Linked DNA regions of Homo sapiens: regions 2, 3, 4, 5 and 6 are each linked to region 1. The links are contacts of gene promoters, found by promoter capture Hi-C in human tissues and cell types (Jung and others, 2019). All regions are on one chromosome and are shown on one strand. Each heading gives the region's core, a stretch centred on a gene start or on the middle of the fragment in contact. The rest is flanking DNA. Distances are from core to core; before and after follow the strand shown. Region 1 holds the start of CUL9 (cullin 9). Region 2 overlaps UBR2 (ubiquitin protein ligase E3 component n-recognin 2). Region 3 overlaps XPO5 (exportin 5). Region 4 overlaps BICRAL (BICRA like chromatin remodeling complex associated protein). Region 5 overlaps TJAP1 (tight junction associated protein 1). Region 6 has its middle 4.9 kb from the start of PEX39.

Region 1 (2,971 bases), core at 136-2,635:
AGGACTTAGAAGAATGACATGGGTGGACAGGAAGGACAGCAGCATGTGAGGCAGTGGGATCAGAACATGTGAGGAAAAGTAGGATAGCGGAGGGGCAGGACAGGGAGCATAAATGACAGAGTAAAGCTGCAAGGTGGATGTAAAGGGTGGGCCATGGCAGATATAGAGAATGGAGATGACAAAAGGCTGGGATGTTGGGGCAAATGACTGGATAGGAAAAGTATATTCGAGTCTTGTGAAAGGGGGAGGGCCCTAGGGACCAGATAAAATTATGGGAAAGATGACCAGGTCCCACCCTGCCCTTATACTGCATGTATGGTAAGGATTTAAGTAAGTTAAGTAGATAAGATAGAGGTGGTAATCATGGGGTTAAAGGTAGGAAATGAGGTCAGGAGAGAAGCAATATTCAGAGACTTCAGTATCAGATAAATGTGACTCTGAATTCTGGCTTTCTGTCTCACTGTCTGCATAGTTTGGAACAAGTTACTTAACCTCTGAGCTTGTTTCCTCTTCTGCAAGATGGTAGTAATATTCATAGTTACTTCATGAATTTAGTAGGATCATGTATGTAAAGCACTTGGAACAGCATCTAGCACATAAAGAGTGTTCAGTAAACATAATCTGTTATTATTCTTAGATGGAGAAGGTAGGGGAGTCATCAAATAAATGCAAAGTTATTAAGACCGATTATAAATGGGAGTGGAATAATCAGGAAAGATATGCGTGATATGAAGCAGTGCAGGGGCAACAGGGAATAGTGAGAATAAGAATGGAAGAAGGTAAACCCAGATGAAGATATAGTGGTCAGGGCAGGGGTCATGTTGGGGTACAGGGACAGAAGATGAGAGTAGAGGTGAAGAGGAGGGAGAAAGATGGATGTGGACCTCAATGGAGGTAGGGGTCCACTTAGGATGGGGGGCAAGCCTGGATGGTAGCCAGCGATGTGCCAGCGGGCAACTGATTAGCAGCAGGGGGAAGTAAAAGAATCGGATAGGAGGAGGTAGGAGGTGTAACGTCGGCCTAGAAGAGCAACAATAAACTGAGGTGTGGGGGTGAGCTCTGGACGCATGGATGAGACCAGCAGATAGCAAGGTCAAGCCCAAGCTTGCAGAGCCGTGGGGAGGTGGAGGAGGCCAGCACCGCAGAGGGAACGGGTTTGGGGGGAGGGGGAAGGATGGTTGGGGGCGCGGTCCAAAAAAGCTGAAAAGATCCAGTGAATCTCAGAGAGCAAGACCTGGTTCCCTTCGTCAGCCCCATGGACAGTGGCTAAAGGACCGGGGAGGGGACAGGAGAAGGGGAGGGATTGGGTCGGCGCAGAACTCTCCTCTCACCTCCCACCGCCCGGCTCAGCCCTCGCTGGGACCCAGCGGCCGGTCCCGCCGTCCTGGCCCCGCCTCCTCAGAGCTCCCTTCCGGGTCACACGGCGAGTGCACGCACGGCCGGGCACCTACGGGTCCCACCGCGGCCCACGCCGAGCGTGGCGGAACAGCGCGCGAGTGGAGCATGCGTGCTACCGCGGGCGGCTGCACTGGAAGAGGGGCGTGGGGGCGCGCTACCGGAGGAGCCTGGGATCGAGGTCACGTTGCTCCTCTCTCAGCAGCAGGAAGAAGCCGTTTCCATCCAGTCAACTGTGAAGCCCCCTCCTCTTCACTGGGTCGGCCCTCCTAATCCTCCCTCTCCCATCACAGCGATCATGCTGACGAAACATGGTAACCCACATTCCCACCTTAAGGCTGCCCTTTTTGACTTTTCAGTAGGTCAGGTGCCCATGAGTTTCCCAAACCCTTCAGCAATGCTTTGGATTAGTTGTGTCACTTTTCCTGTTAATTAAAATTTGCTCCTCTGCGTTGGCCTTAACACCTAGCGAAGCCACGCACAGGGAGAAGGTCCTCGGCCCCGCAAAACTTTCCTTAAATTAAATCGTATAGAATTAAACAGCCCAAAGCACACCTTAGCATTACCGTTCTCATCAAGCAGCCCGGATCGCTACTCAGAGCAGCAATTTTAGGAGTTTGCCTCGCGTTCATACCCCCATCCCTCCCTAAGTAGAAAAACAGAACCAAAGACCCCACAGTCTGTGCACAAAAATGATACATTTATTGAAAGAGTATTTTTTTTTAATACAAAAGAAAGCTCTGTACATAGGACTGTGACCATGTCCACTATTCCTGGGTCAGCATCCCAGGGGAAGTAGAAACCACTGACATACACACTCACATTCAAGCACACACACTCACTCAGGCGCACACACCCACACACACATACCCCAGAGCCACCGAGGAAGGGAAACACCAAGGGTCGCTGCACATAAAAATATCACCTCAACTCATCCCTGACACACGCATGTCCTCCCAAGGCCACGCTCACACAACACACATTATAAGCACTTTGCCTGATTCACTCACTGGGTCTGTCTTTTGTGGGAAGGAGAGGAAGAATTCATCAAAGGTCTCCTCCCCATGGGTGGGGGAGTGGGGAGTGAGTGAGTGATGGTGGAGTGAAACAAGAGCAGAGAAAAGGGGCTGGGCAGTTACAGACCTGAGTCCCAAGCTCCCCTGCTCTCTGGCCCCTGATTTGCCATGCCCCAGCCTTGAAAGCCACCCATAAGCCCCAGCTATCTCCAGGAGAAAGCCCAGAAAGGTGACTTCCATCTTGGCACCCCAAACTGGGGCAAGACAGCAATGAGGGTTAGAGGTTAGGGGGTTCTCAAACATGTCGGCAAATCATCCCCTTGATAACTAGGCTGTGCATAAAATCTTCCCCCATCCCTTCACCTAATCACAGAAGCCAGCTTGTTCCTACTGAAGGCAGTCTTAGGGGTTAAGAAAATTTCACCCCACTGCTGCCCTGTTTCTGAAAAAGCTCCCCTTCTGGATATAGGTGGTGAAGGTAGGCTCTGACACAGGGTAAAAGACCCTCCCCCCTATGCTGGCCCACCCTCAAGGTCTACCCCAAAGGGGGAGGAGGGGGG
Region 2 (2,971 bases), core at 337-2,836, 490 kb after region 1:
AAGCCAGACTCAAAATGCTACATATGATACAATTCCATTTATATAACATTCGGGAAGAGACAAAACAAAGGGAGAGAAAAACACTGGTAGCTGAAAGCCAGGATGAGGCAAGAAGCTGACTACAAAGGGGACTTTTGGGGAAGATGGAATTGTTCTATTTCTCGATTGTGGTTGTTTAACTGTATGCATTTGTTAAAATGTATAAAACTGTACACTAAAAAGAGTTAATCTGTTTGTAAAATATACCTCAATAAATGTGACTTAAAAAACAAGAGTAGGAACAGGCCAGGCACAGTGGTTCACACCTATAATCCTAGCATTTGGGAGGCTGAGGCGGGAGAATCATTTGAGCCCAAGGGTTCAAGACCAGCCTGGGCAACATAGCGCGGCTGTATCTACAAAAAAAATACAAAAATTAGCCAGGTGTGGTGGCATGTGCCTCTATAGTACCAGCTACTGGGAGGCTGAGGTGGGAGGATTGCTCGAGCCCAGAAGGTTGAGGCTGCAGTGAACCAAGGCTGTGCCACTGCACTCCAGCCTGTGGGACAAAGCAAGACCCTGTCTCTTTAAAAAAACCAAACCAAACCACCACCACACCAAAATCAAGAGTAGGAAGACAGGGAGGAGCATGTCAGAAGGGGCTTCATGAGTTCCTGGAACTAAAGACAAGAGTGGTGAAGGCAGTAGGCTGGGAGCAGTGTTACTGACCAGGAGGCAGGGTGAGTGCAATGGAAACCTTGCTGTTTTAGTTTGATGCTCTCAAGAGGATTTCAAAAAAAACAGAATTCTCATGGGCAATGACTCCCCTAGGAAGACAGTGTAGCTGCCTTTCTATGTCTCTCTCTCAAAAGCAGGAAGTGGTCATAAAAAAAAGAAAAAAAAAACCTCCAACAGCCCTGAAAAACCAGCCAGCACACTAGGGGAGTGTGTAAGGACAAGGACCTTGAGATCACCAGGTAAGGATGAACAAGAGTTTAAACCCAGACACAGGTCTTGGAGTGCCCTGTTTCCCAGTGATTTGAGTTCCAAAATGGTCCACAAAGGTCACACGCTGTCATGGCTAATGAATATGAAACTTAATCAGCTGAAATGATGATCACACTTTCTCTGAGAAGGTCAAGATAGTTTGGCTAGTGGCCATAATAATATAACCCTCTTAAATTTAAAGCTAATACAGATATCCCACTATATTTGTAGCAAGGTGACACGGGCACCTTGCTGTGGCAGGTAAATGTGTAAAATGAAACAGAAAGATATATGCTAACCAAAAGTAATGCCAACACCTAAAGCATTTATTTGGATATCTTTAAACTTTTTACATATGATACATTCCAAATTTTACAAGTTGTCCACAGATATTAAAGTTATAGCCAATTTATTAAACAGATATGATTTTCCCTGATATGGAAAGCGTATGTTATATAAACATTTCTACAATAAACATAAAACATGCGGAACAAATCATAAAACTAACATGATTTGTAAGGTAGGAAAGACAACTAGCTTAACACCAGAAAATAAAAAGGTGTGTATGTTGCAATTTCATGTAAATTCATCTTCTCCCAGGCTCTGTGATATTCTCAGAGAATGAAATCCAGAGACAACCTTTGCTAACTCCAGGCTCCTAGGAAGTCGGACCGGAAAGCTGGAGTATTGTTATGATTTGGTGAAAATGTTTATAATCCACTTGTACAGAGAGAAACCTGGTCTTATTATTTTAAATTTTAGCTTGGTGAACATATGAAAAAAAGCCAAAAGAAGCTTACCTTAAAAGCTAAAGAAACTGGATGTGACAGAGGCCAAAATAAACATGAATTATGCCACCTACAGCCCAAACAACCAGATCTTATGAATGAAGGCCAGAAAAAGGGGGAGAGAGGTGGACTCAAATGTGAATTTTCTTTCTATTGGTCCTCCTCTCAGCTGGGTGAGTCAGTCCCACGCAAGAATGGCGACGGTCATCCTCCTGTCAAGAGGGGGCGGTTCTTTCACACACTACCTTGGAGAGGAATGTGGCTTCTACATCCTCACTTCTTTTAGCTTCAGTTCCAGATTTCTGACCTTCTTCCTGTGATACTGTGGAGCATGCCTAGTTGACTGGTAGCTGAGTGGAACAAAACTTGTAGATGTAATTCAAAGAAAACTGATTGAAAGGGTCAGTTGCATTGGTTAAAAAAATCCAAGAGCCTCTTATTACTCATCTGTTCCTTAGCCCCACCTTAGACAGGCTCAGAATTTATTCCTCTACTAAGTCTTCAGTCACTCTCTGCATGTATTCAAGCTCTCAGCAGTCATACATCAAACAATAGTAGTTGTGTGGTACATAATAATTATAAGCTATTTTGTAAGTGGCTCTTGTTCTAGGAAGGCACCTCAGTAAGAACAATGATCAAAAAGAATAAAAAGCCTGGGTGCCAGACCATCCCAGGAATGCACTAAGTGAGCCAGCAAGGAAGCAGCAGCTTGTCTGTTCCAGGAAATGCTGGCTGGGTGGGAGTGGGTTCTCACCTTCTTCAGTGTTTGGCTTTAGATGATATACTCTGCCAATTTAGCCTTAGAAATAACAAGAGAATATCACTGTCTGAAACATTAGGGTATTCTAAAAGAATACAGATAAGAAAATTAGGATACTCTTTTAGAATACCTATTATTTTAAACTTAAGCTTGGTGAACATCTGAAAAAAAGCCAAAAGAAGCTTACCTTAAAAGCTCAAGAAACTGGATGTGACAGAGGCCAAAATAAATATCACTTATGCCAACCACAGCCCAAACAACCAGATCTTATGAAGGAAGGCCTCTCATCTAGATATTAGGATATCTAAAAGAATATCCTAAATTTTTAATCCATATTCTTTTAGAATATCCTAATTTTTCTTCCTAATTCTAAAAGAATATCCTAATTTTTTAGACCATCCTAAGTTTTTGGAAAGCCCTCTAAGTGAGTTTTCTCAAAGCCAAAAGTCTTGCCATA
Region 3 (2,971 bases), core at 273-2,772, 350 kb before region 1:
GGGAATTGTGTTCCTCTATCAGGTCCAAACAGCTGTTGCAAGGTCCATGCTCTTGGAATTAAGACAAAACATTGAAAAATGGGGCAAATTACCACCTCCTCTGTGTTCCTACCTGTAAATCCACAGTGTTGCACACATTTCATTCCGTATCACTGGTGGTCAAAAAACTCCTGGGACCACCTCAGATTTAAAAGAATTTTGCTTTCTAGCTTTGGACTCTGATACTGTCCTGTGTCTTGGGGTTTAGTTCTCATGTTAATTTATCTTAGGTATTGTATACTAAGATAATTATATCTATACAAGTCTGTTCCCTCCTCCAGCGAGCATTCAGATATTTATACCTTCTTTTCTTTCCCCTGCCAGGAGTTGATGGGCAGATCTGTGTGAAACTGTAGTATCACTGGATTACAAGCAAAACCCACTCTTTCCTTCTGCATCAGATGGAAAAGCTCAATAGCATTCTTGTTTCTTTCAGAACCCACAATACATTATATGCACCAGAAATGCTAGCCAAAATGGCAGAGCCTTTCACCAAGGCTCTGGATATGCTTGACGCGGAAAAATCTGCTATATTAGGTAAGAAATGTAACCTTTTTTCTCCTAAGGTTTATCTTATCCCTAATGGATGTCCCCTTTTTTTGTTGTTTTTTAAGAGTCATAGTCTCTGTCACCCAGGCTAGAGTGCACTGGTGCAACCATAGCTCACTGTAGGCTCAAACTCTTGGACTCAAGCAGTCTTCCTGCCTCAGCCTCCCGAGTAGTTGGACCACAGGCAGATCACAACGCCAGACGAACTTTAAAATTTTTTTGTTGAGACAGAGTCTTGCTATGTTGCCCAGGCTGGTCTTGAACTCTTATCATCAAGCAGTCCTCCCACCATGGCCTTTAAAGCACTAGAATCCTAGTGATTACAGGCGTTCTTATGGGTTCCTTGAGCAGCTTCAGCCTATCTTGTGCTTCTTCCATCTTGTCTTGCACTGCCTTGACCATCTATTTGTTCAGAAATGCAGAATGTGGAGTTCCTATAAGCTCTATATGAACAAGTGTATTTACTTCATTATCTTAGCATACAGAGAAAATCGAAGGCAATTTATTTTTTTTCCCCGTTAACCCCTTCTTCAATTTAGCCAGTAGGTTGTGGTGGGTGTTACAGCCATTCAATTATAAATAAATCATGGCCTTTAACCTGAAGGATATTTGTATACTTTCCTGCCTCCTCGTGTGTGTGTGTGTGTGTGTGTGTGTGTGTGTGTGTGTGTGTGTGTGTGTAGATAGGTATCAAAGTTTTTAAAGGAATAGATTTTAAGCCATTTCCCAATTGTTACCTTTTTTGTTTTGTTTTGTTTTCTTGAGAGAGTCTCACTCTGTCACCCAGGCTGGTGTACAGTGGTGCAATCTCAGCTCACTGCAACCTCTGCCTTCCAGGTTCAAGTGATTCTCCCACAGCCTGCTGGGACTACAGGCATGCACCATCACACCCGGCTAATTTTTTGTATTTTTAGTAGAGACAGGGTTTCACCATGTTGGCTAGGCTGGTCTCGAACTCATGACCTCAAGTGCTCTGCCTGCCTTGGCCTCCCAAAGTGCCAGGATTATAGGCATGAGCCACCACGCCTGGCCTTCCAGTTGTGACCTTGTTAGGATACTGCTTTAATTCATTTTCCCATTGAAAATAAGCATGAAAATAACTGTGCAGTCATAATTGTGGTATTTGCTGTGAAGGAAAGTGGCAGGGCTCTGAGTGTTTATCGGGAGACCTAACCCAGTCTCAGAGGGAAGTCAGAAGGCTGACTCCCAATGGGGACTTGAAGGATGAGTACGAACTAGCTAGGTTAGGGGCATGAGGAAATGCTGGGCATTCTGGACAAACAGAATGGCAGGTATAAGATCTGAGGCAAGAGAAAAAGGCCTTGGTATGTCCAGAACATAGAGATGGTTGAATCATGTGGCTGGAGCACAGGGAGCTAGTCTGGGAATGTGGGATGAAGTTAGAGCTAGAGGCATCAGTTGTCTAAACCTTGTTCCCATCTCAGAAGCTTCAGGCTGGCTCACCATCACAGCCCCCATAGTTTGTCTTTGTCATCAGCTATAACCTGTGTCTGAGCCCGGCTGTGGTCAAGCAATCCAATGGCATTCCTCAGCTGTGAAGTTAGCCAAAGGAAGGATGTTAATTTGCCTTTCCAGAACTCATGTCTGTCTGTTTCAGCCTAGATAGTCCTGAATCTTTTCCTTTGACACCATTCCATTTAAGGGTTATGTTGCAGACACCAGTAAAAGTAGAAATTCCAAGAAATGTATAGCTATTAATATAAAAAGTAGGTGTTGCTTACCACACACCCCCATGCCATTATTCAAGTTAAGTCAGGAACTCCTGCTATAGAAATAAGTGGCCAACCAGAAATACTAGAATGGACAAACAGTTCCCACAGATAGCTTCTGACTATAGGACTCGAAATGTAAAACCTCTGATTACACTTAAAAATATAGATATTTTAAGGCAGTTTTTAATACTAAGGTAAGTGGGTTTCATTTTTAGCTGCTACACATCTTAGTGTTTTGTGTAAGATTTTGCTTAAAAAAGGGGTTTCATAACTTAATTGTGGGAGCATCCCCAGAGCTTTATGGAAAAATACTTTTGAGTTGTCACTTTTTTTGGTACAGGTTCCATCTGGGGGAAAAAAAAAAGCAGATAAAAGAGTACCCGGGTCTAAAGTCCTGGGTCCTTAAGTAGCTTTCACCTTCTCCTACCAAAAGAGTGCAGCAAATCACGTAGCCAACTGCTTTGCAGTACAGCACCAGACATGCACACATCTTCACCCCTGAACAACAGCTTCCTGCTGTAGAGTGTTGGCCAATTGAGACTCCTGACAGTGGAGCATCATGTTCTTGACCCGTATTTCCCTGTAGGATTACCTCAACCTCTCTTGGAACTCAATGACTCTCCTGTCTTCAAAACCGTCTTGGAAAGAAT
Region 4 (2,971 bases), core at 255-2,754, 330 kb after region 1:
CTGAGGTGGGAGAATTGCTTGAGCCCAGGAGTTTCAGACCAGCCTGGCCAACATGGCAAAACGTTTTCTCTTAAAAAAAATATAAAAATATTAGCCAGGCGTGGTGGTGCGTGCCTGTAGTCCCAGCTACTCAGGAAGCTGAGGTGGGAGGATCGCATGAGCCCAGGTGATCGAGGCTTCAGTGAGCTGTGATCACACCACTGCAGCACAGTCTGAGTGACAGGGTGAGACCCCAACTCAAAACAAAACAAAAACAAAAACAAAAACAAAACAAAAAACCCAGCTGGACTAGACAGGGCACAGTGGCTCACACCTGTAATCCAGGTACTTTGGGAGGCTGAGGTGGGTGGATGGCTTGGGCCCAGGAGTTTGAGACAGGTGTGAGCAACATGGCAAAATCCTATCTCTACAAAAAATACAAAAAAACAGCTGGGCATTGTCCTAGCTACCCAGAAGGCTGAGGCAGGAGGGTCACCTGAGCCTGGGAGGTCAAGGCTGCAGTAAGCTGTGATTGCACTACTGCATGCCAGCCTGGGTGACAGAGTGAGACCCTGTCTCAAACAAAAACCAAAAAGTTGGACTTTAAAAAGTGTCAAAGTTGGGTCAAAAGACCGTAGGGATGGCCTACTTCCTATACGCCTGGTTACTACTACAGAAAAACAAAAATCCCTCAGTATAACTAAGAAGAAGAGATTCGCTTTGATATAATAGTGAACGATATCACCTAGTAGTAAATGACATTTTTTGAGTGCCTAGTATGTACTAGCTGCTGGTATATTACTAATTCATGAGGAAATGATGGATTAATGAAGCACTGTAAACATGTCAGAAATAGAATAGACATTCATCTCAGAAACATAAACATAACAAGGCCCAGCCCACCAGGAAGGTCTTCAATGACCACCCTGTTGTGGGCACACAGGGGACTGGGTGGACTGTGCACACAAAGCTAGCCAGCAACCACAAAGATAGCACGACTACATTTTCATTCAATTATGCCGAACATTAGGAAGAGGCTATGCCAATAGTTTTCTACCTGCACAGCTGGATGGCCAGGAGATGATCCAACTACTTTTTCCTGCTGTGGTTGTGCGGTTCCTAAGGATGCGGATATAACTTTGCTTCCAGAATCCTGCCCTATTAGAATTAATACATGAGACAGTGTTCAAAAGAAACAGTAAATTGGGTCCATCATATAACCCTAGAACCCAATGGGTACAGACTGTTGAGCATTCTGAAACGGGTTTCTTTATCATGGCTGCTTGCTGTGAAGAAGGAGGGCAGGGTAGTGCATTTACTTACAAGCTCTAAAGGAAGAGGTTATTAAAGCCTATTTAAGTAATAAATAAGTAAATAGTAATAAATAGAAGCTCCAAATGCTATAGTTTCAAATTATTTATAGTCTGAAAAACAGGCCTCAAGCCAGTAATCTGTCAGCACTACAGAATCCCAAAATACAATTTAAGGAAAGGGAGGCCCAAAGAGGCAATTGACTGGGAATATTCAAGCTTTTTCTCTTTCTTGCCTTTTTTTTTTTAAGTACTAATTGGGTACTGCAGATGTTCAAAGCCTTAGAAAAAACGGAAGACATAGTCCATAATATTTTCAGTCTGGGTGGAGAATTCCAAACATGCATGTAGAGAGCAACATGGGGATAATTTCAAAGTCACAAGTACTGTAAAATACCTTTTCTTTTTTTTTTTTTTTTTTGAGACAAGGTCTTGTTCTGTCGCCCAGGCTGGAGTGCAGTGGCGCAATCATAGCTCACTGCAGCCTCGACCTCCCAGGCTCAGGTGATCCTCCTGCCTCAGCCTCCTGGGTAGCTAGGACAATGCCCAGCTAGTACAGACAGGGTTTCACCATGTTGGCCAGGCTGGTCTTGATCTCCTGACCTCATGATCTGCCCGCCTCGGCCTCCCAAAGTGCTGGGATTACAGGTGTGAGCCACCGTGCCCGGCCTCAATTTATTGTTTCTAAGAAGTATTTTTTTTCCACATAATTTAATGTGTCATAATTTAGATAGAAGTGCTTGTTTTTCTTTTTGGTAGTATAAAAAATGATAGTACATCTTACAATTGATGCTATCTTAGTGGGGTTTTTTTTTTTTTTTTTTGAGACAGAGTCTCGCCCTGTCACCCAGACTGGAATGCAGTGGTGTGATCTCAGCTCACTGCAAGCTCTGCCTCCCGGGTTCAAGCGATTCTCCTGCCTCAGCCTCCTGAGTAGCTGGGATTACGGGCGTGTGCCACCATGCCTGGCTAATTTTTGTATTTTTAGTAGAGATGGGGTTTCATCATGTTGGTCGGGCTGGTCTTGAACTCCTGATCTCAGGTGATCCACTCTCCTTGGCCTCCCAAAGTGCTGGCATTACAGGCGTGAGCCACCGTGCCCGGCCCAATGCTATCTTAGAGTTGATGCAACACAGTATATTATTTGCGGAAAGGATACAGAAAGAAAGGAATAATCGGAGTGGAGACGAGATTAAGCCAGAAAGCTTTCGTGCAGAATGAGGGAGAAAAGTGAGAAGAGCATCCCGTGGTGTTGGGAGGACAGGGACAAACTGAGGAAGCTCCTGACCTGGCAGTGTGGTGCTCAAGAGCCCAGGGATCTGTGCTTGCCTCAGGCCGTCTGTGGTCTTGGGAGCAGAAATGGGGGAAGTCTGATTCAGACATTTTTTCTGAGCCTGTGAAACATGACAAAGATGAAAACATTAATTTCATTTCTAAAGCTTTAACAGATTATTTTAAATACCAACCAAGCCTCTTCATGCCTCCCTGGTACCTTCAGGTTAGATTATAAACAAACCAAAAATTTAATAATTGTATTTTCTTATCACTTCAGGGGAACTGCAAAGTACATCCTTTAACAATCTGCAGGCACACTGAATTTTCCTGATGCCATTCAGCGGGGATGCTGAGTTGATACCAGGCTATTTTCTTGCTCCCGGGGCTGCTGTGTTTGTGGTGCTCAG
Region 5 (2,971 bases), core at 333-2,832, 310 kb before region 1:
TGCCTGCAGCCCTGACCTGGCCCCCTGCCTACTCTAAACCAAACAGATTGACAGGGTTTTGAAAGCCAAAAAGAGTGGGAATTATTCTGCCCCAAAGCAATCCTGAGGACTCAGAACAGTGCTGGTGACCTGTGAGAGCTCATCTGGCTCCCACATGAGCAAACACTTCCAAGTCTATCCACCTGGCCTCACATCCAGACAAACACTTCACAGGAACAAGGGGCTAAAGAGCCAGGCAAACCAACCCCTCCCTGCAAAAAAAGAGGGCAAGAAATCCCCAAGGTCATAGCCTGCATTTGACATTAGACCCCATGCCCTCTCCTAAGAAAGGCCAAAGTGAAGGACCGGCCCTCAACCAGGCCTCAACTCCAGGCCCTTTTGCTTTCCTGGTCAGAGCCAAGTCAAGAAAGCCTCCAGCTTGTTAACTCCCCATTTGGGGTCCCTAAACATCTCTGCATTACTGCTAGTCCCCATGAATAATATATAGTACTATAAATGTTTATTTGTACATAGTACACTCATATATAATACATTATAAGCTCAATCCACATGCATATAAATAGGTATTGTTTATTCCTTAATCAACTATCATACATTCACTATTATTAATCATATAATAAAATTCATTTCCACATGGATATTGATCAGTACTATAAATCCTTAATATTGCATAGTACATATATTCATTTATTGGACGTAGTGCATTTTCATCAAGATATTTCTCATCGGGCCAGGCACAGTGGCTCATACCTGTAATCCCAACACTTTGGGAGGCCAAGGCGGGCAGATCACCTGAGGTCGGGAGTTCGAGACCAGCCTGACTAACATGGAGAAACCCCGTCTCTACTAAAAATACAAAATGAGCCGGGCGTGGTGGCGCATGCCTGTAATCCCAGCTACTCGGGAGGCTGAGGTAAGAGAATCGCTTAAACCTGGGAGGCGGAGGTTGCAGAAAGCCGAGATCGTGCCATTGCACTCCAGCCTGGGCAACAAGAGCGAAACTCTGTCTCAAAAAAAACCCAAAAAAACAAACAGATATTTCTGGTCAACATGGATATCCCCCACCAACTTTGGTCTCTTAATCTATCAACCTCCGAGAAATCATCATCCCGCTCAGGAGTGCTATCCTCCTCGCTCCGGGCCCATAACACACCCTCTCCCATTTACAAGCTCCCACCCAGTGCTGGTAGGCTGCTGCCTTCTCTCACCCAGCCCAAGGGGAACAGAATCCACTTAGGCAGCCTTCTGTTCTCAAGCTCCCCCTGTCCAGCCTCCCTAGCACCACACTGCCTCCGGAAGCCGAAGCCACAGTCTATCTAGAGTGACCTGTGTGGAACACCAGGAAACAACAGGCAATCAACTTTCTCATGATCTCCAGACCCGCCTCTCCTTCCCAAGCCTGGAGGGAGAAGGGACTGCGTGGGAGCTTCTCCAAGCCAGGCTGCACGCACCCATCTCCCAGTCTGAGGCCAGGACTTTTTCTGAGCCCAGTGTGGAATCCGAAGCCAGGTCCTGCCCCCACTCTACTGAGGCACCCTTCCCAGCTTTTCATGGCTAAAGTCCACCAGAAACTCCGGATGTGAAAAGAGGTGGGGGGGACAAACTTCACCTCCCAGAGCAACGGTCACCAATGGGAGTGACATCTCACATGGGTCCCTGGTTTGGGGCCCCAGCATTCAGTTTAAGTAGCTTCACTTTTCTGCCCAGGGAATTCCCCAGAACCAGGTCAAGGTTTTCCTCTACCTCCCCAATCCTAAAGAGAACCTTGCAGCTGATCCTAACTTCTTATCCTAGGGTGAGAGTAACAGGGACACTATCCAACCTTCCCTTCTTGATAAAGGGAGGAAATGATCTGATCTAGGAGAAAAGTCCCTTCCCACTCTAGTTCATCTGTCTCTGAGGCATGAGAAGCAGCAGCAGCATGGTAATTGAGGGATCTTCTCAAACTCTGTGCTAAAAGCACAGATTCAACAGAAACTCGAACCAATTCTGTATGAAGGGAGAAGTGAAGAGCACGCTGCTGACTCGGGGAAGGGTGACGGTGGGGGGTGGTCAGTGGAGCCCAGCAGCAGGCTGGTGATGGGCAGGTGGCCGTGAAGGGGGCACATCCCCACCCACAGCAAAGGGAGACTGGGAAAATAGAGGGACGCAGTAGTAAGAACAAGAGAGCAGAGGAGATGGCGTGATATAAGCTAAGGAGGGAGGCAGCCAGGCTGCGGGGAAGGATGGAGGACAGAGGCCCTGCTGGTGGCACCCCAGGGCAGGTTAGCTGGCTGAGGTCAGACTCACAGGGTTAGTGTCTTCTCCCCAACCAGCCAGCTCTCCTGGTTAGTGCAGTTAGCGACAGACTCATGGCAGATGCCCTCCAGGCACTCCATATAAACAGACAGCTTGGTTTGTGAGCAGCCCAACTCCGGAGCTGCAGAGAGAAAGCAGAGGAATGGCAAGCTGCAGGATGCCCAAGGGGACACACTGCACACTGCACTCTCCTGATGGGAAGCATCGCAGACTTACCACCAGACCCTCAGGGGCTTTCTCCCATCCGGAAACCATGCCAGATGGAAGCCAAGCACTCCCCCTGCCAACCAGGGAGGCCAGCTTGCTGACCTCAGGCAAAAAGCCTCTCTGGTTGGTCAACAGAAAGAGAGGACGGCTGTTGGAGAAGGGGCTCAGCTCCTCTATCTCGCCTGTTCCCCAAACACTGCTGCCAGGCTGCACCAGGACTCTGAAAGCTAGGCTGTAAGAACAAAGCCACCCACAGCTGCAGCTGCAACCCATCCCGCACCAGTGCCAGCAGAGTCCATCCCACCACCTCCCACAGGCTCTGAGGGGCTGGGAGAGAAGCAGCCCAAGGATTAGAGGCTATGACAAGGGCTGCGTCGGAAAGCACAGTACAATGGGGCAGTGTGTGCCTGGCCTACAGCTGGGCCAGTCAACAGCACGGGCTGCACACTGCCGCCTGGCCAGGGGT
Region 6 (2,971 bases), core at 275-2,774, 290 kb after region 1:
CAGAAAAAATTAAAACGGATAATGGGCCAGGATACTGTAGTAAAACATTTCAAAAATTCTTAAATCAGTGGAAAATTACACATACAACAGGAATCCCTTATAATTCCCAAGGACAGGCCATAATTGAAAAAACTGATAGAACACTCAAAGCTCAATTGGTTAAACAAAAAAAGGAAAAAAGACAGTAAGGAGTATAACACTCCCCAGATGCAACTTAATCTAGCACTCTATACTTTAAATTTTTTAAACATTTATAGAAATCAAACCACTACTTCTGCAGAACAACATTTTACTGGTAAAAAGAATAGCCCACATGAAGGAAAACTGATTTGGTGGAAAGACAAGAAAAATAAGACATGGGAAATAGGGAAGGTGATAACATGGGAGAGAGGCTTTGCTTGTGTTTCACAAGGAGAAAATCAGCTTCCTGGTTGGATACCCACTAGAAATTTAAAGTTCTACAATGAACCCCTTGGAGATGCGAAGAAAAGCGCCTCTGCGGAGACAAAAAACCCTCAATTGAGCATCATCGACTCGCCAGGTAAATAAAATGGTGATATCAGAAGAACAGATGAAGTTGCCATCCACCAAGGAAGCGGAGCCACCGACTTGGGCCCAATTAAAGAAGCTGACACAGTTAGCTAAAAAAAGCCTAAAGAACACAAGGGTAATGTGAACTCCAGAGAATATACTGCTTACAGCTTTGATTATTATATCAACGGTAGTAAGTCTCCCCATGTCTGCAGGAGCAGCTGCAACTAATTATACTTACTGTGCCTATGTGCCTTTCCCACCCTTAATTTGGGCAGTCACATGGATGGATAATCCTGTTGAAGTATATGTTAATAATAGGGCATGGGTACCAGGCCCCACAGACGATTGTTGCCCTGCCCAACCTAAAGAAGAAGGAATGATGATAAATGTTTCCACTGGGTATCATTATCCTCCTATTTGCCTAGGGAAGGCACCAGGATGTTTAATGCCTACAACCCAAAACTGGTTGGTAGAAGTACCTACCGTCAGTGCCACCAGTAAATTTACTTATCACATGGTAAGTGGAATGTCACTCGGGCCACAGATAAATAATTTAGAGGACGCTTCTTATCAAAGATCATTAAAATCTGGGCCTAAGGGGAAGCCTTGCCCCAAGGAAATTCCCAAAGAATCAAAAAGCCCAGAAGCCTTAGTTTGGGAAGAATGTGTGGCTAATACTGCGGTGGTATTACAAAACAATGAATTTGGAACTACTATAATATTATATAATAGTTATATATTATATTATATTATATACAATTATATTATATATAATTGTATGGGCCAGACTCACTCATGTTTACAGGCCCCATCCATCTGGCCCATTAATCCGGCCTATGATAGTGATTTAATTGAAAGGCTGGACCAGGTTTATAGAAGGCTAGAATCACCCTATCCCTGGAAATGGGGTGAAAAGGGAATTTCATCACCTCGACCAAAGTTAGTTAGTCCTGTTACTGGTCCTAAACATCCAAAATTATGGAAGCTTACTGTGGCCTCGCACTACATTAGAATTTGGTCTGGAAATCAAGCTACAGAAACAAGAAATCGTAAGCCATATTATACTATCAACCTAAATTCCAATCTGACAATTCCTTTACAAAGTTGTGTAAAACCCCCTTATATGCTAGTTATAGAAAACATAGTTATTAAACCAGATTCCCAAACTATAACCTGTGAAAACTGTAGATTGTTTACTTGCATTGATTTGACTTTTAATTGGCAGCGCCATATTCTGCTAGTGAGGGCAAGAGAAGGTGTGCGGATCCCTGTGTCCATGGACCGACAGTGGGAGGCTTCGCCATCTTCCATATTTTAACGGAAGTATTAAAAGGAATTCTAACTAGATCCAAAAGATTTTTACTTTGATTGCAGTGATTATGGGCCTTATTGCAGTCACAGCTACTGCTGCAGCTGCTGGAATTGCTTTACACTCCTCTGTTCAAACTGCAGAATATGTAAATGATTGGCGAAAGAATTCCTCAAAATTGTGGAATTCTCAGACCCAAATAAATCAAAAATTGGCAAACGAAATTAATGATCTTAGACAAACTGTCATTTGGCTGGGAAATAGGCTCATGAGCTTGGAATATCTTTTTCAGTTACAGTGTGACTGGAATATGTCAGATTTTTGTATTACACCCCAAGCCTATAATGAGTCTGAGCATCACTGGGACATGGTTAGATGCCATCTACAGGGAAGAGAAGATAATCTTACTTTAGATATTTCAAAATTAAAATAACAAAATTTTGAGGCATCGAAAGCCCATTTAAATTTGGGAACTGAGGCAATCGTGAAAGCTACTGATGGCCTCACAAATCTTAACACTGTCACTTGGTTAAAAACCATCAGAAGTTCCACTATTGTAAATTTCATATTAATCCTTGTATGCCTGTTCTGTCTGTTGTTAGTCCACAGGTGTATCCACCAGCTCCGAAGAGACAGCGACCAGCAAGAACGGGCCATAACGACGATGGCAGTTTTGTCAAAAAGGGGGATATGTAGGGAAAAGAGAGATCCGACTGTTACTGTGTCTACATAGAAAAGGAAGACATAAGAAACTCCATTTTGATCTGTACCCTGAACAATTGTTTTGCCTTGAGATGCTGTTAATATGTAACTTTAGCCCCAACCTTGTGCTCACGGAAATATGTGTTGTATGGAATCAAGGTTTAAGGGATCTAGGGCTGTGCAGGATGTGCCTTGTTAACAAAATGTTTACAGGCAGTATGCTTGGTAAAAGTCATCGCCATTCTCCATTCTCGATTAACCAGGGGCACAATGCACTGCAGAAAGCCACAGGGACCTCTGCCCAGGAAAGCCAGGTATTGTCCAAGGTTTCTCCCCACTGAGACAGCCTGAGGTATGGCCTCGTGGGACGGGAAAGACCTGACCATCCCCCAGCCCGACACCCGTGAAGGGTCTGTGCTGAGGAGG

What was found. Contacts are between HindIII fragments. The study calls those that stand out against the background at their distance.
Region 2: a fragment that was not itself captured here is called in contact with the fragment with the promoter of CUL9 in region 1 in 2 of the 25 tissues and cell types used here (lymphoblastoid cells and spleen).
Region 3: a contact is called between a fragment that was not itself captured here and the fragment with the promoter of CUL9 in region 1, in 1 of the 25 tissues and cell types used here (mesenchymal stem cells).
Region 4: a fragment that was not itself captured here is called in contact with the fragment with the promoter of CUL9 in region 1 in 1 of the 25 tissues and cell types used here (spleen).
Region 5: a contact is called between a fragment that was not itself captured here and the fragment with the promoter of CUL9 in region 1, in 1 of the 25 tissues and cell types used here (lymphoblastoid cells).
Region 6: a fragment that was not itself captured here is called in contact with the fragment with the promoter of CUL9 in region 1 in 1 of the 25 tissues and cell types used here (dorsolateral prefrontal cortex).

Annotation. Positions count from the first base shown.
Region 1 is chr6:43,180,610-43,183,580 of GRCh38, reverse strand. It overlaps CUL9 (cullin 9), which reads right to left and starts at 1,385. Exons shown (of 41, transcript NM_015089.4): 1 at 1,332-1,385. SRF (serum response factor) reads right to left here. Exons shown (of 7, transcript NM_003131.4): 7 at 2,075-2,971. RefSeq lists silencers at 1,185-1,234, 1,255-1,394 and an enhancer at 1,645-1,714. The HindIII fragment of the contact is 4,480 bases long and covers 40-2,971 here.
Region 2 is chr6:42,691,806-42,694,776 of GRCh38, reverse strand. UBR2 (ubiquitin protein ligase E3 component n-recognin 2) reads right to left here. Exons shown (of 47, transcript NM_001363705.2): 47 at 1,272-2,971. Among named protein-coding and RNA genes, the nearest start is that of PRPH2, 29 kb to the left of the region's middle. The HindIII fragment of the contact is 3,806 bases long and covers 1-2,971 here.
Region 3 is chr6:43,531,512-43,534,482 of GRCh38, reverse strand. It overlaps XPO5 (exportin 5), which reads left to right. Exons shown (of 32, transcript NM_020750.3): 21 at 476-576; 22 at 2,908-2,971. It also overlaps a transcript of POLR1C not described here. Among named protein-coding and RNA genes, the nearest start is that of POLR1C, 16 kb to the right of the region's middle. RefSeq lists a silencer at 981-1,181. The HindIII fragment of the contact is 3,986 bases long and covers 1-2,971 here.
Region 4 is chr6:42,851,804-42,854,774 of GRCh38, reverse strand. It overlaps BICRAL (BICRA like chromatin remodeling complex associated protein), which reads right to left. Exons shown (of 13, transcript NM_001393499.1): 7 at 2,578-2,683; 8 at 1,037-1,137. Among named protein-coding and RNA genes, the nearest start is that of RPL7L1, 26 kb to the left of the region's middle. The HindIII fragment of the contact is 4,425 bases long and covers 1-2,971 here.
Region 5 is chr6:43,489,347-43,492,317 of GRCh38, reverse strand. All of the region lies in intron 2 of TJAP1 (tight junction associated protein 1), which reads right to left. Among named protein-coding and RNA genes, the nearest start is that of TJAP1, 13 kb to the right of the region's middle. RefSeq lists enhancers at 1,487-2,081, 2,082-2,675. The HindIII fragment of the contact is 8,583 bases long and covers 1-2,971 here.
Region 6 is chr6:42,894,230-42,897,200 of GRCh38, reverse strand. No RefSeq gene overlaps it. Among named protein-coding and RNA genes, the nearest start is that of PEX39, 4.9 kb to the right of the region's middle. The HindIII fragment of the contact is 6,847 bases long and covers 1-2,971 here.